Regions from separate parts of the Homo sapiens genome. Here region 1 is linked to region 2. The links are contacts of gene promoters, found by promoter capture Hi-C in blood cells and fetal thymus (Javierre and others, 2016). All regions are on one chromosome and are shown on one strand. The core of a region is centred on a gene start or on the middle of the fragment in contact, and the rest is flanking DNA. Distances in the headings are between cores, read along the strand shown. Region 1 overlaps SIAH3 (siah E3 ubiquitin protein ligase family member 3). Region 2 holds the start of CPB2 (carboxypeptidase B2).

Region 1 (6,932 bases), core at 2,722-5,221, 280 kb before region 2:
CAGGCAATTTCGGAGGACTATTGAACAGCAGCATTCCCTCCAGCCCTCCTCCCACCACCGCGGCCCTCCTTTTCCACCAGCCTCCGAAATCCCCTCCCGGAGCAAACAGACTCTGCCTGGCTGCTTCTGCAGTTTCTGGGTTACCTGGGGCTTCTCTTTCCCCTCCTCTCCCAGGTTCTGGGGCCCTCAGAACTTACTGGCCTTACCAGGGAACCAGGCAGCTCCTGGCACTTGCTTCCTGCTGCGTTACTGACTTTCCAGTTTCTAGGAGGCTGATGCCTGCCCTCTGGCCCTCTGCACGTAACATACTCTCTTCCAGGAATTTCCCCACCTCCGTCCTCCCCAGACTGTCTCCTACCAAGGTCTGTTGTTTCCTTCTCTGTGTTCCCCTCTGTCCCTTCTGCATATATATGAGTACCATTATGGGTTGAATAGTCTCCCAAAAAGATGTTCAGGCTCTAAACCCCAGTACCTGTGAACCTGCAGACGTGACCTTATTTGAAGATAGGGTCTTTAAAGTTGATTGAATTAAGGTGAGGTCATTAAGGTGGGCCCTAATCTAATATGACTGGTGTCTTTGTAAAAAGTGGAATTTGGAGGCAGAAACAGACATAGACACATAGAAAAGATGATGTGAGGACACAGGGAGAATGCCATCTACAAGCCATGGAATGCCCGAGGCTGCCATTAGGCAGGAGAAAGGCCTGGGACAAATTATCCCTCACAGCCTAGAAGGAACAAGCCCTGCCAACACCTGGACTGTGAGACAATCAATTCCTGTTATTCAAGCCACCTAATTCATGGTACTTTGTTGTGGCAGCTCTAGGATTCAAATACAGGTACTAGTAGCCCAATCACACTGTCACATGAATTTGATTTCTTGTCTCCCCAGCAAAGCCATTGGTTCTTAAAGGCCTGAACCTACTGCCCCATGGCCCAGTAGAGTGCCTGACACATAGTATGCCATCAAAAAAATTTGGTGTCATAAAAATAATTAGACTTCAAGGTGGAAAATCACCGTAGAGATTTTTAACCATTGTCCTAATTAACTATAGCAAAGATGCTAATTATGAGCAAGTGTTATGCAAATGACTCTGTGGCCCTCTTAATTATATCATTACCTAGACATGGCCCCTAGGAAATAGCTGCGCTCAATTCTTGGGTTGAAAATCAATGAGAGTGGGGCCAAAAGGCAGTCAAGAGACAGTTTGTTGCTCAGCACGTTGGGTAGGAAGAGAGAACAAGAACAAATGTTCACTGTGAAATATCTGGAGGTTCTTTTTCATGTGCCCAGTTGATTTCTGCTTCTTATCTTTCAGCACCACCCTCCACAGAGCAGGGGTAGGGGCCTGAGTACCAGCCAGGAGTGATTTATGAGGGTTATCAGTGGCCGTTGTAGGGAATGCTTCACACCTGTGGGTCCCCGGCAGGACTATACCCCTTTGCTCTTGTGACATGTGTCCCCTGCTGCAAGTGACACGTGGACCCAGAGTGTCTCAGAGAAATCTGGCTCCTTGGCGCTCCCAGTCCAAGCTCCCCAGCATCATCCCTGAGACAGCTGGTGCAACAGGGAGCTTTTCTGAAGACACTGGGGTCTCAATGCGGACCTATATGGTGTCCCACTGCCATGATTCAGGAACAGAGAACAGAAAAATTGCTGTCTTTCTAGAATGTGATCTGGGAACTTGTTCTTCAGCTCCAATATAATTTTCCTAGAGGTGAACATATTTTCTTAGCAATCATTCATTATTTTTTCCAAGTATAGTAAGACAGTATATTGGACCATTTGAAAACAGACTGAGCCAAAAGGACTTTTAAGATCATTAAACTGCATTTGGATTTGAGTCTTTCTGATCTAAGCTTCAGTTACAAATTTACTAACTTGAGTGATCAATGCTGTGAAGAAGTGAGCTAACATTTTCATTATCAAATATATATATATATATATATATATATATATATATATTAGACTAGGGAACAGGCAAAAATGGTATTAATAATGATTGCCTCTGGGCAGTAGGATTATAGGTGATTTTATTTTCTTATATTTTTGATTTCCTAATTTTGAAAATGAACTTATTTTTTATATCATCAGAAAAATGTTACTTGTAAAGGACTTGAAATCCTCAGCCTGGATGACAAATGTTTGCTGTTTGGGAGCTGGGTGTGCCGCAGGCCTGGAAGACAGAAACTCATCATTGTCCTGAAACGGAGCTGGTTTTAAAGTGCCGTGTTCTTGCACTTCACGGCCTGCCCCATGGCCTCCTCCCCAGCCTGGAAAGTTATCTCTGTGAGGCTGTTTTTATTTTCTTTCTTAATGAGGAAATGAAGAACAAAGGCCACAAAGTCGTCCCAAGGTCCTTGCACCCTGGAGAGGGGCGAGCACTTTAGGAGCTCTTTGAATCCCTCCCTCTCCAGACAGAAAGCTTCTCCTTAGATCTAACCCGTCCCCTCTGCTCCAGATTAAAGCTGTTAGCTCTTATTTGAACCTCAGTAGAAGGTGGGCATCCTATTCCATAATAGTCCTGGGTCTACTTGAATAATAAAAGAATTACAACTCGTATTCTCATGACGCTTTAGAGTGGTGATTTCTTAACTGTAAAGGCACAATCTAACTGCCTGGGGAGCGTTTAACGAAGACCACTGCCTGGCCCAACCCTAGAGTGCTGACTTAATCGGTCTGGGGTGGGCACCTACAGCTGGAGTTCTGTAAAAGCTCCCCAGGCAATTCTAATACGTGGCCAGAGCTGAAAACTGCTGCTTCCGAATTTTTAAAGCACGTGTACACTATTTCAGCTGATCCTCAGAACCACTATAGGCAAGGCAAGTCTGCCCTATTTTCCCAGGCAGGTCTTTTTATAGCATTACTTTAAAAACCTTAAATCTCAGTCTACTTCTGGAGTTTTTCCAATTTTCTTTTCCTTTGTGAAATCTACCGTTGATATGCCTTTCAGCTTTAAAACTCTCCAGTTACCTGAATGTAAACTCTCAGCCCTAGAGAACTCCATCTATTCTGTGATTCTCCAAGCACTTGAAAGATTTTGGTCTCAAAACTGCTATCCAAAGACACCATGAAGCCTGTCCTGCTTCTCATCACTCAGCACTATCCTACCCTACCTTTAAGACAAGGTCAAAAGATGCAAAGGCCTTCAGGGCCAGCAGGCACTGTGCAAGTGTTAATCTGGTGGTTTAGTCCTACAGGCCTGACAGTATAGGGAGTGGTGCTGACAGTGTTTGTCAAAGATCTGGGCTGTGACCTGGTGTGACCTTGGGCAAATTACTTACTGGCTCTGAGCCTCAGCTCTCTCCTCTGTAGTAACATTGGGACTGTATTTTTAAAAAAATATTATTTTAGATTCAAGGGTACATGTGCAGGCTTGTTACATGGGTATATTGAGTGATGTTGAGGTTTGGGTTTCTAGTAAACCCATCACCCAAACAGTGAACATAGTACCAAATAGTCTACATTTTAGGCCTTACAAAGGTCAAAGATCCATTCTCATCTGTTTAATCTTCACCACTCTATAATTAGGGCAATTTTTACAACCCGTTTTACATACTAGGCAAATCTGACTTAGGTTTAAGTGAACTTCAGTTAAAAAATTATACAAGTAAAAACTGGCAGAACTTGGTTTTGAAGTCAATTCCTTTTAGTGCCAAACCCTTTATTTGTCCCACAACGCCACATCGAATTCTCTAAGAGTGTCAGTAATGTTAGCTGCCTCAAAGGGTTGTAAGTTAGATTGAATGTAGTCAGGCCCACAGCAGGCACAGGACCTGCCCCCCTTGCTGCTGTCGATAAAGCTCTGCTATTAACAAAAGCAATAACAGAATATTCAAAGTGGTCTGGGGTAGCCTCCATACCCCTCACCTGTCACTGGCCATTTTCTTCCTTCTTTGTAAGCTGGAAGGCTCTGGGCCTAACCTCATCTAATTAAGGCAGAGTATCTGGGGTTGAGACCCAGGTTTCAGCCCTTCCCCTTGGTTTCAAGCTCCCTAGATGATTCCAACATGCAGGTGGAGTTGAAAACCACTGTGGGGAAAGAGACCAGTGCTAAATGTCTTTGGACCTCCAGACACATAGAGCCTGGCACACAAACAATGTTTTGTGGTATAATTTGTTAAAGCAGCGCATCGGAGTTGGAAAAATCCAGGTTTAAATCTCTATCACTTATCAGAGAAGGGGACTTATTTGCTCTGAGCCTTATTCCTCATTTATTAAAAAACAAAAACCACGAGATTGCGCCACTGCACTCCAGCCTGGGCGACAGAGCGAGACTCTGTCTCAAAAAAAAAAACAAAAAAAACAAAAACCAAAAAACCAAAAAAAGAAGCCATCCTCTACTCTGCAGGGCTGTGCTGAGAAGTGACAGAGAACCAAGGCGTGTGCTAATGTGTCCACTGCTGTGAGTGCTAAAGCGGTATGCAAACGTACGGCAGCATGACAGTATCGTGGGTGCTTAATACATATTTATCGATTTCCACGAGATCTTACTTACCCATCTTTTCTTCACTCTTAAACATGAAGCTGGGGGAAATAAATAAGAAATATAATTGCACCTCACACTTCAGGACTCCCTAGGCATCTCGCATTAATAGGTCTCTTCAGCTTTCCTCTAAGTGCTAATAATTCCTGGGCGTTTTGATGGGAGCGCTTTCTCCCAAAGATAAATTGACCCCAGCTAAGAGCCAAGCTCCTAGCCAAATCTCATTACAATCAGCCTTGATGGCAGACAGGATTCAGAATGTAACAAAATTAGAGCTTTTAAATCATTATCTCGACTCTGGGAGCACTGCGTTAACAGATGGGAATGTGGATGATGGAGAAAAGACCTCACACCACACTCTTCCCCAGAAAACGGATTTCCCCCAAGCCAGGAGCGCAGCCCCCAGCCCTGCCTGGGGTGTGTGCTTAGTGTCACCTTGGAGGGAGTGACATCTGAACTGACCTTTTCACACCTTCGTGAAGTAGTCTTCCTGAGGATCCACTTTTCCCAGCTCACTTTTCTGCAGAAGGTAACCATAGGGGAAAATGTGAAATGCTGAGTCTCTTAGGAAACAACTTGGTGAGCAAGAAGTTACTTGGGACAGTACTTTCTGTTGCTGCTTTCCTGAGCTCTGAGCAGCTTCCTCATCTGTTCGTTCATTCAACAGCATCAGTGCACACTGGGCCCTCATATCATACCTGTTCTGGCTACATCCTCTGTGCCTGTGACATTTCTCCGTTTTGTAGGACAGCCCTACCCCAGCTCCCTCGCTTCCTAGGCCTTGTTCTCTGAGTTACAGCTTTCCTCCAAAGGCTCCCTCCCCTGACCATGAAGACCAAAACCCAAGTCTCTCAGCATTCAAAGATCTCTGCCTTCCTCCCCCTGGCCCTCAACACCCCAGCCCTGTGTCTTTGTTTCCTGGTTTCTCCTTAGCCTCTGTCTGGAAGGCGTTTTCCCTTGAGCCTTGTATGGCTGGTTCAGTGCATGTTCTTTTCATTCAGATGTGAGCTCTTGTGACACTTTTTTAAAGAAAGCTTTCCTGGATGACTCAGTCCATAGAAGCTTGTTTTAATTCTCTGCAAAGCATTTAACATTACCTGATATATTTATTTACTTATTATCATTTTCTTCTTCTCTGGGCTGGATTGTAAACCCTGTGAGATCAGACCTGTTTATGTCATTCACTAATACATCTTCAAAGCTTAGGATGATGCTTGGCATATAGTAGGTGCTAAATAAACATTTAAATGGATGGATGGATGGATGAGTGGGTGGGTGGATGGATGGATGGATGGATGAATGAATGGATGGATGGATGGATGGATGGATGGATGGATGGATGGATGGATGGATGAATGGATGCATGGATGGATGGATGGATGAATGGATGGATGGATGGATGGATGGATGGATGGGTGGGTGGATAGATGGATGGATGGATCAATCAATAGCGTTCTCTGCAAGTGCTCCTTGACTCTCCGGGCTTTATTATTTATTACACTCTATGCTTTACCTTATCACGTGCCTCCTGTTCATGTTGCAGCCTTCATCACATGTTAATAGCTCAATCCTAGCATAGTGGACATGTTAAACATATTTCTTCAAGTTAAACATGAAAATCTGCTCTCTAGGAGTTTACAGTCCAGGAGGGAAGGTAGAGCAGGTTCAGAAAGACCTAAACTCTACGTGTGAGTTGTGGGTTCCCTAAAATAAAAAGATAATGTGAGGGCTGAGGGCTGTGGGTTGCAGAGGCTGGCACCCCTCCAACATTCTGGGGTGACAAACATTTCCAGATTGACACCCAGACCAACCCTGACCTGGTGATCCCCTAGGACTGTCTCTGGGCGATGTACACATTAACTGTGATGAACTCAGCGGGCTAGATTAGTCTCTCGAGTAAACCACAGTTTTAACGGCCTGCCCACCACCAATTCCTTTTTTCTTCATGGCTAACAGCTCTTTAGTTTCATTCATGTCAGCTAAGTGGCCACTCTTAGCTCTGAGCCAATCACTATTCTTTGTTTCCCTGGCCCTTCTTGACAGTTCTGATGCCTGTGTGACTGACCCAGCTCTGGTCCGTGAAACTTAAGAGCTGTCTTTTGGAGGAGAGGATCCTGACAAAGCTTTTGCTTTCCTAATAAAATGAAACAGTGTCACCCTTTTCCCCTTCCATTTGTCTTGAATACAGTCAAGATGCTGGAGCTGCAGCCAGTGTCTTGCAAACACGAGGCAGCAAATGCAAAGGAAAGGGCAAGAGAAGAGGAGACAGGCCAATCCTGACATTCTGAGCACCTGAACTATGCTAGAAACCATCTACCCCCAGGCTGTGATTTGTAAGAAAAACAAACCTCTACTTATTCAAACCACTGTTATTTGACCATTCTGCTATTTATAACTGATTTTATTTCTAACTAATATGGAACTCTACAGACATGTCCAATCCAG
Region 2 (6,893 bases), core at 830-3,329:
AGCATAAGTATCAGTCAGATTTCAGAGTATAAGCTGAAGCAACAAATAGTAACAAAGCCCATGCATGAAGATATGTTCTCACTCATTTTTTTACTATTTTATTGTTGGCTACTTCTTCTATTTGCGTTATATTTAGTGTCACTAAGCTGCTATACACGTACTCATTTGAAGAGATGTGCTAAAGCTTTTAGTGTGTTTTGCTATTGATTATCCTATCCAAGAGTTTGGGTTACTCTACGATCAAGATGGCGGTCTGCAGTGAGCCCACCTGCCCGCCAACCTCTGCAACAACCAGCTGAGGATAATTGCACTGGGCTGACGCCAAGGCCATGATTAGATCTGCTAGTGGGTGAGAACCATGAGACTGAACCTCTAATCCCGAACCTCTCTTCCAAGCTACTTTCCAAACCAACTGCTGCCTGCAACTCCCTTTGACTAAATCTGACCTTCCTTCAAACTGGCTCTCTTCCTAATTTCCAGATTTTATGGAGGCAATGCTGTCCAGTGCATGGAGTTGAAATGAGGCTAAAGTGGGTTTGAATCCAAGCTCTACATTTACTGTTTGATCTTGGGCCAATTATTTATTCTTCCTGAGGCTCAGTTTCCTCCTTTGTAAAATGTCAGTAAAGATTCCTAGCATGTAGGATTTTATGCATTTAAAGAGATAACATTTCTAAGTGACTAGTTCAGTGCCTGGCACAAACACAGGCACTAAATAAGCAGAGGTTTCCTCCCTTTCCCCTAACTGTCAATGGTACTGCCACTGTGTACAGTAGCCAAGTTGGACATGTTGATACCAATTTTTCTCTTCTCCCCCTTTCCCTTAACTGAAGCCAATTATCAAGTTATGGAATATTAGAACTAGCAAGAACCTTAGAAATCCTGACCATATGATTCACCGATAAAATACAGAGAAAGACATAAGTCACTGATCATTGCAGCAATCTTGACCCCCACGTCAATTAAATAACAAAAATAATATCATTTTATGATAGAATTTGTTGCTCGACATTCGACAATCATGTTGAACAAAAGAAGATCAATCAACTATAATCAGTTCAGTGATCATGTACAAACACAGCTTCAGGCTCACAAGTCAAGATCTATTTTCCAAACCATTGTCCTATGGTTATTTATGACCGTGAACATTTTTTTGGTGGTAGAATGTTCCTTGTCACTGGTATATTCCTTTGCCCTATGTCTCTTCTTTCTTTGTCATTTACTAACATGAGGAGAGGGATCTGTCTCAAAGATAATTGGAGGAGAAAGCGATCATAGAACCAAAACAAAGGGGAAAAAATAAGATAATTCCAAAGGAAACAATATCAATGTTTTAAAGCCTAAAAATTGACTACTTAATAAATTACATTACATATACCCTGGAACTATTTTCTCCATGCATTGCATGTGCTATAGCATGAATTCATTTGTGTTCTTCTAGATAGTTTATCCTAAGGGAATCTACTAAGCAAAATAAGAATCAGATAATAGTTCTTTATCACACAACTCTTCTTCCTTTCATATTCCATGCTAAATAATCATGCATGATCCAAACCTCCTATTTAACACTTCACCCTCTTCTTCCTCCTATGTTCCATGTACAAGGGGAAAATAAATGATCCATAGTTAACTTTTTTTATGTGAAGACAGGAAGAATATGAATCATACATCAAGTTAGAGTATAAATAGTTACGTTTATAAAAGATTTAATTTCTTGAATCTCCATAGTCACTGGATATGCGTATCATCCAAGGTTCTCCCAATAATAAAACCAGAGCCAGGAAAGAAAAAAGACCCTGTCTTTAGTGATAGCCCATTGTGCTAAAGTCTACTTATTTGTCAGGGCAACTTGGAAAGTTCTGAAAGACCTGGCCTTCAAAGTTTACCATTTTGTCCACCAGCTCAGTGCACTGACTTGACACGACATGAGGCAAACAAGTGAGGAGAGTGGCCCACCACAGTCTAAGATTCTATTGGGTTACCTCTGAAACGCGAAGACATGCTGCTCACAGAAGAGAACAATGGGTACAAGGACTGCAAGGCTGCAAAGCTTCATCCCAACAGCAATTTTCTGTACAACAAATTTCTCTGAAGAGAAAAACCCAGATCATTGATTGCATAACAGCCTTCTTTACACACTGGTTAAAATATAACGGCATGTTCCCTCTTGTTCCTGTGGGTCAATCAACTTAGCTTCCATTTCCACTCCCAAAAAGAGAAATATTATTGGCTTAGTTAGGCTGTTGCTTGATAATTAAACACTCAAAAAGAGTATGATGAGAGTTGCTCTTAATTTAGACTATCTAGAAAATGTGTAACTCCTTGGGGAAGGTAGGGCCAAGAATAAAAGGGTAGTAATACAGTAGGATCTTGTCTGGTTTATTGCAGAACAATAGCTATAGAATATTGACTAATGGATATATAGCCCATGTTGAGGGAGATCTACCGTGAAGTACTATAAATGTCTTCCCTTGCCTCTGACTTTTTCAACATTTTAAATTTATGAAGATGTAAAAAGTGAGTTCCTCAAATCTGGCTAATCCAATCCAATGTTGAAGTGCAGTTTGTAAGGATGATTACAGGATCTCTGTTCAAAAAGATGTTTCCTTGACCATATGGAATGATAGGCCCACCCCCAATAGGAATACTATTTCATGGAAGCTGGTTCAAGCAGTAAAGACATCAGGTTACTTTGAATCTCATTTATTTAAAGGTCACCATAATAGCCATCAATTAAATCCAGGCCCATCCCCTATCATCTTGAAAGTAGCATCAAATAACATTTTGTCTAGTATGAGGCCATATCCTACCCTCTGTAAGTGAGTGGAGCCCTCTTCCCCTACATTCCCATTGGTTAATGCACTTGAATGTTCTTGAAGTCAGAATTGGCAAATTTGCAAAATAAATCAGCCTGCCCACAATTAACTTCTGAGAAGAAAATGATTTTTTTTCTTTTTTCTTTTCTTTTTTTTTTTTTTTTTTTGAGACAGAGTCTCACTCTGTAGCCCAAGCTGGAGTGCAGAGGCGTGATCTTGGCTCACTGCAACCTTCACCTCTGGGGCTCAAGCAATTCTCCTGCCTCAGCCTCCCAAGTAGCTGGGACTAGAGGTGTGCCCCACCACACCCAGTTAATTTTTTTTGTATTTTTAGTAGAGACAGGGTTGCACCATGTTGCACTGGATGGTCTCAAACTCCTGAGCTCAGGAGATCCACCTGCCTCTGCCTTCCAAAGTGCTGGGAATACAGGCGTGAGCCATCGTGCCTGGCCAGAAGAAAATGATTGAGATTTCAAACTTTTCCTTTTGAGATTTAAAACTATTGAATGATATTTAATGAATTAAAGTGACCTCCACTGTAACCACTTGTTGTATAAGAAAGAAGAAGAAATAAGAAAATATGTGTGTGTCTGCTCATATGTGGAGAAAGAAACATAAGAAGGATAGATTAGAAATCAATGAGACTGGTTATCCACGGGAGGTGAGTGGAAACACACTGGAAAAGACAGGGTAGAAGAGACAGGGAGGGACGCTTCTTTGGGTGAAGTGTTTTGAATAGTTCTGAACTTTAGAACTACTCTGAATTTTAGAACCATGTTCTTTTCACATATGTACTTAAAACAAGCAAACAAATAAATTTTAAAAAATAATACAAACAAAAACGAACCTGTGTTTCAAATGAATAACATAATCACACTGAAGGAGAGAAAGAAAAACTAACCCAAGTAACTTTTACCTTATCTTTTTAACATAAAAGTTAACTTTAAAACAAACAGTCAAAATAGTTAAAATATGCTAATAAATTCTATCAATTTTTGTGCTACTTATTTTGTATCTGTGTTTCTTCTTTATTTTATGTCCTGTTTCCTCTCTGGGGAAACAGAAACAGGATACAAAAGAAACAGAGTGCATAAAAAACAATAAATTTTAAATTACATTTCTTATTGCTGAAGCAATCTTTTAAAAGTTCCTATAGCAAAAGTCTACAGGTGATAAAATCTTTTATGCTCTGTATCTTTAACAATAACTTTCTTTTGCCTTCACTTTCAAGTACTAGTTTAGCTGAATGTAATATTCGAGTGTGACGGATGCGTCATTGTTGTTTGACATTTCCTGTTGCATGGTAGGAATCTGCTGCCCAGGTAATTGTTGTTCCCTTGCAGTTTAGCTGTCCTTTCTCCTTGATAACTTTTAAGGGATTATCTTTATCCTTGGTGCTTCTCAGATCCATTACTCTGGTCTAGATGTGGATTTAGTTTTTATTATCTTACTCAATACACAGGATGTACTTTTGATCTGAGGATTTAGACATTTCTTCAGTCTTGGAAAATCATTTTATTATTTCTTCAGCTATCGTATCTCTGCTAGTGCCCTGTAGGGGCTCCTGTTGGAGCTTCTTGATCTATCTTTCATGTCTTGTAACTGTCCTTTCATGTTTTAAAAACTCATCATCTTTGTCTCTGTATGCTGTATTCTGGGTGAGTTTCTCAGCACTATCTTCAAATCCACTAATTTATTCTTTGAGTCTAATTTAGACTACATAGTCCAGTTGAGGTGTTTTAAATAATTACCTCGATGACTATATAAATCATTTACAGCTGGTTCTTTTGCGTGTTTACTGATTTTGTTTTTATACCAGTATTTTAAAATATCATTTAAGATTTTTTTCAATTTTTTAGTCGATATGATTCCTTTAGATCTCTCATTGAGAATCCTCAGGATACTTATTTTAAAGTCAGTGTTGCACTGCTTTATGAGGTTAATTATGTTTGGGTGAATTCATGTTCTGAGTATTGATTTTGTTAGCTGCCTTTATTGGTATTTGAATTCTTCTGTGATTTGGAACTCTGGTCTGCAGGCTCATTTTGAGTAGGAAGTCTTCCTTCAAGTAGGAAGTCTTTCATTTCTTTCTCTCTTCCCCTATGCTCACTTCTCTCTGCTTGGCACATGCCTCCAAGAAGTCCCTGCGCTTCCATTCCAGAGCCCTGTCTTACACTGGTTTTTGGAGCACATTTCAAAGATCCAGTCAGCAAACAGTAATGACTTGACTTAATTATTGGCTTAGTTACTCCTGGTGTAGTTATTCTGTCTCATACTGACTAGCAGCTACTTATAAACCAGTCCTAGGTAAAAGTGAGCAGCATTTTTTTCCTTTGTATTAAGGTACATGCAGTGAAATGCACAGATCGTAAGTGTACAGTTAGATTTTATATATATATATATATATATATATATAGAAGTGTTTGTTCAGATCATTTGCCTGGTTGTTAGTTGGGATAGTTTGTCTTATTACTGATTTGTAGGAGTTATTCACATTTTCTAGACATCAGTCCTTTGTCAGATATATGTATTGTAAATATATCTTCCTTTGAGAAATGTCTATCAAATTCTTTTGACCATTTTGGAAAATTTAGTTGTCGTTTTATTATTAACTTGTGAGAGTTATTTATATATTCAGGATACAACTCCTTTGTCAGACATATACATTGTCAATATTTTCTGACACTTTGTGGCTCTCCCATTTTTTATTGATGTCTTTTGCAGAGCAAAAGTTTTTAATTTTGCTGAGTTCAATTTATCAATTTTTCTTTAGTGGTTAGTGCCTTCTGGGTCTTGTCTAAGGAGCTTTGTCTAACTCAAGATCATGCAGATATTCTTGAAGCTTTATAGTTTTGACTTTTAGGTTTATGATCCATCTCAAATTAATTTTTATGTATGTTTTGAGGGAGGGATTGATGTTCTTTAATTTTCCATATAAGTATTCAATTGTTTTAGCATCATTTCCTGAAAACACTTTTCTTTCTCCCATGGGATTGCTTTGCCATCTTTGGGAAAAATCCATTGGCTCTGTACGTATGAGTCTACATCCATAAGTTTGCAGTAATTTCTTTCCTCACCACAATAATAACTAGAGTGTGTCTGTTTTATTTCTTATCTCTTTTTTCTCCTTATGCTTCAATTTGGATATTTTCTATTGATCTGGCTTCAAGTTCACTTATTCTTTTCCCAGCAGTTCCAGTTTGCTGATAAGTCCATTGAAAGAAGTCTTTATTTCTGATATATTTTTCATTTCTGACACTTCTATTTGAATTTTTTTTTAGAGTTTACTTTTCACTGCTGCATTTCCCATTTTTTCATACATGTATGAACAAAGATTGTCTTTGAGCAATCTCTGCATCTGGTTCTTTTGACCATTTTCTCTTTTGAAGATGGGTCACTTTTTATGCTTTTTCATATACTTGTAATTTTTTATTGAATCACAGATGTTATGTACAAAAGGATAGGATAGACTAAAGTAACTAGCAGATAAGCCCAGAATAGGTCCCATATCTTCTTCTCTCATGCCACCAGTGTGAAGGATTGAGCCAATCTAGGCTGCAGTTGAGCTGGGTCTAGGCTTTGCTGTTATTTTTGTTAAATTTTATTTGTTATATTATTATAGCAAGATCAAATTATTTCCTCTAGCCAGGATTGATATCTGAGTGCCTGGAGGGTTTGTCTTAGTTCTCCTGCCCTGCCTGCACCCATCGTCAGGCCCAGTGCTCCTGCGCCATAGGAGGGGTCTCAGCTCTCCTGCTCTCCTCTTCCCTACCAGTAGCCACAGGCAGCTACTGTCTCCTGTTCAGCGTAAGGCTGGGTTCATTGTGGGTTTTCTCTCTGTTTTCCTGCCCTGACCTCAAACGTCAGCAGGCTCTGAGCTTCAAAGAGGGTCAGCAGGCTCTGAGCTTCAAAGAGTTCATCTCTCTCTGATCTCTTGACTCTTCCCCAGTACAGATGACCACTGTCTTGTTCTCAGCCTGGGGCTCAGAGTCCTTTGAGATTTGTGATGGTTAATTGTATGCATCAATTTGACTGGGCCATGGGATGCCCAGATATTGGTTAAGCATTATTTCTGAA

The links. Contacts are between HindIII fragments. The CHiCAGO score rates a contact against its expected background, and 5 or more counts as called.
Region 1: a contact is called between a fragment that was not itself captured here and the fragment with the promoter of CPB2 in region 2, in 1 of 17 cell types (endothelial precursors). The highest score is 5.5, in endothelial precursors.

What each region holds. Positions count from the first base shown.
Region 1 is chr13:45,820,591-45,827,522 of GRCh38, forward strand. All of the region lies in intron 1 of SIAH3 (siah E3 ubiquitin protein ligase family member 3), which reads right to left. Among named protein-coding and RNA genes, the nearest start is that of SIAH3, 28 kb to the right of the region's middle. The HindIII fragment of the contact is 3,095 bases long and covers 2,425-5,519 here.
Region 2 is chr13:46,102,954-46,109,846 of GRCh38, forward strand. It overlaps CPB2 (carboxypeptidase B2), which reads right to left and starts at 2,080. Exons shown (of 11, transcript NM_001872.5): 1 at 1,983-2,080. The coding sequence starts at 2,056. The HindIII fragment of the contact is 3,608 bases long and covers 2,049-5,656 here.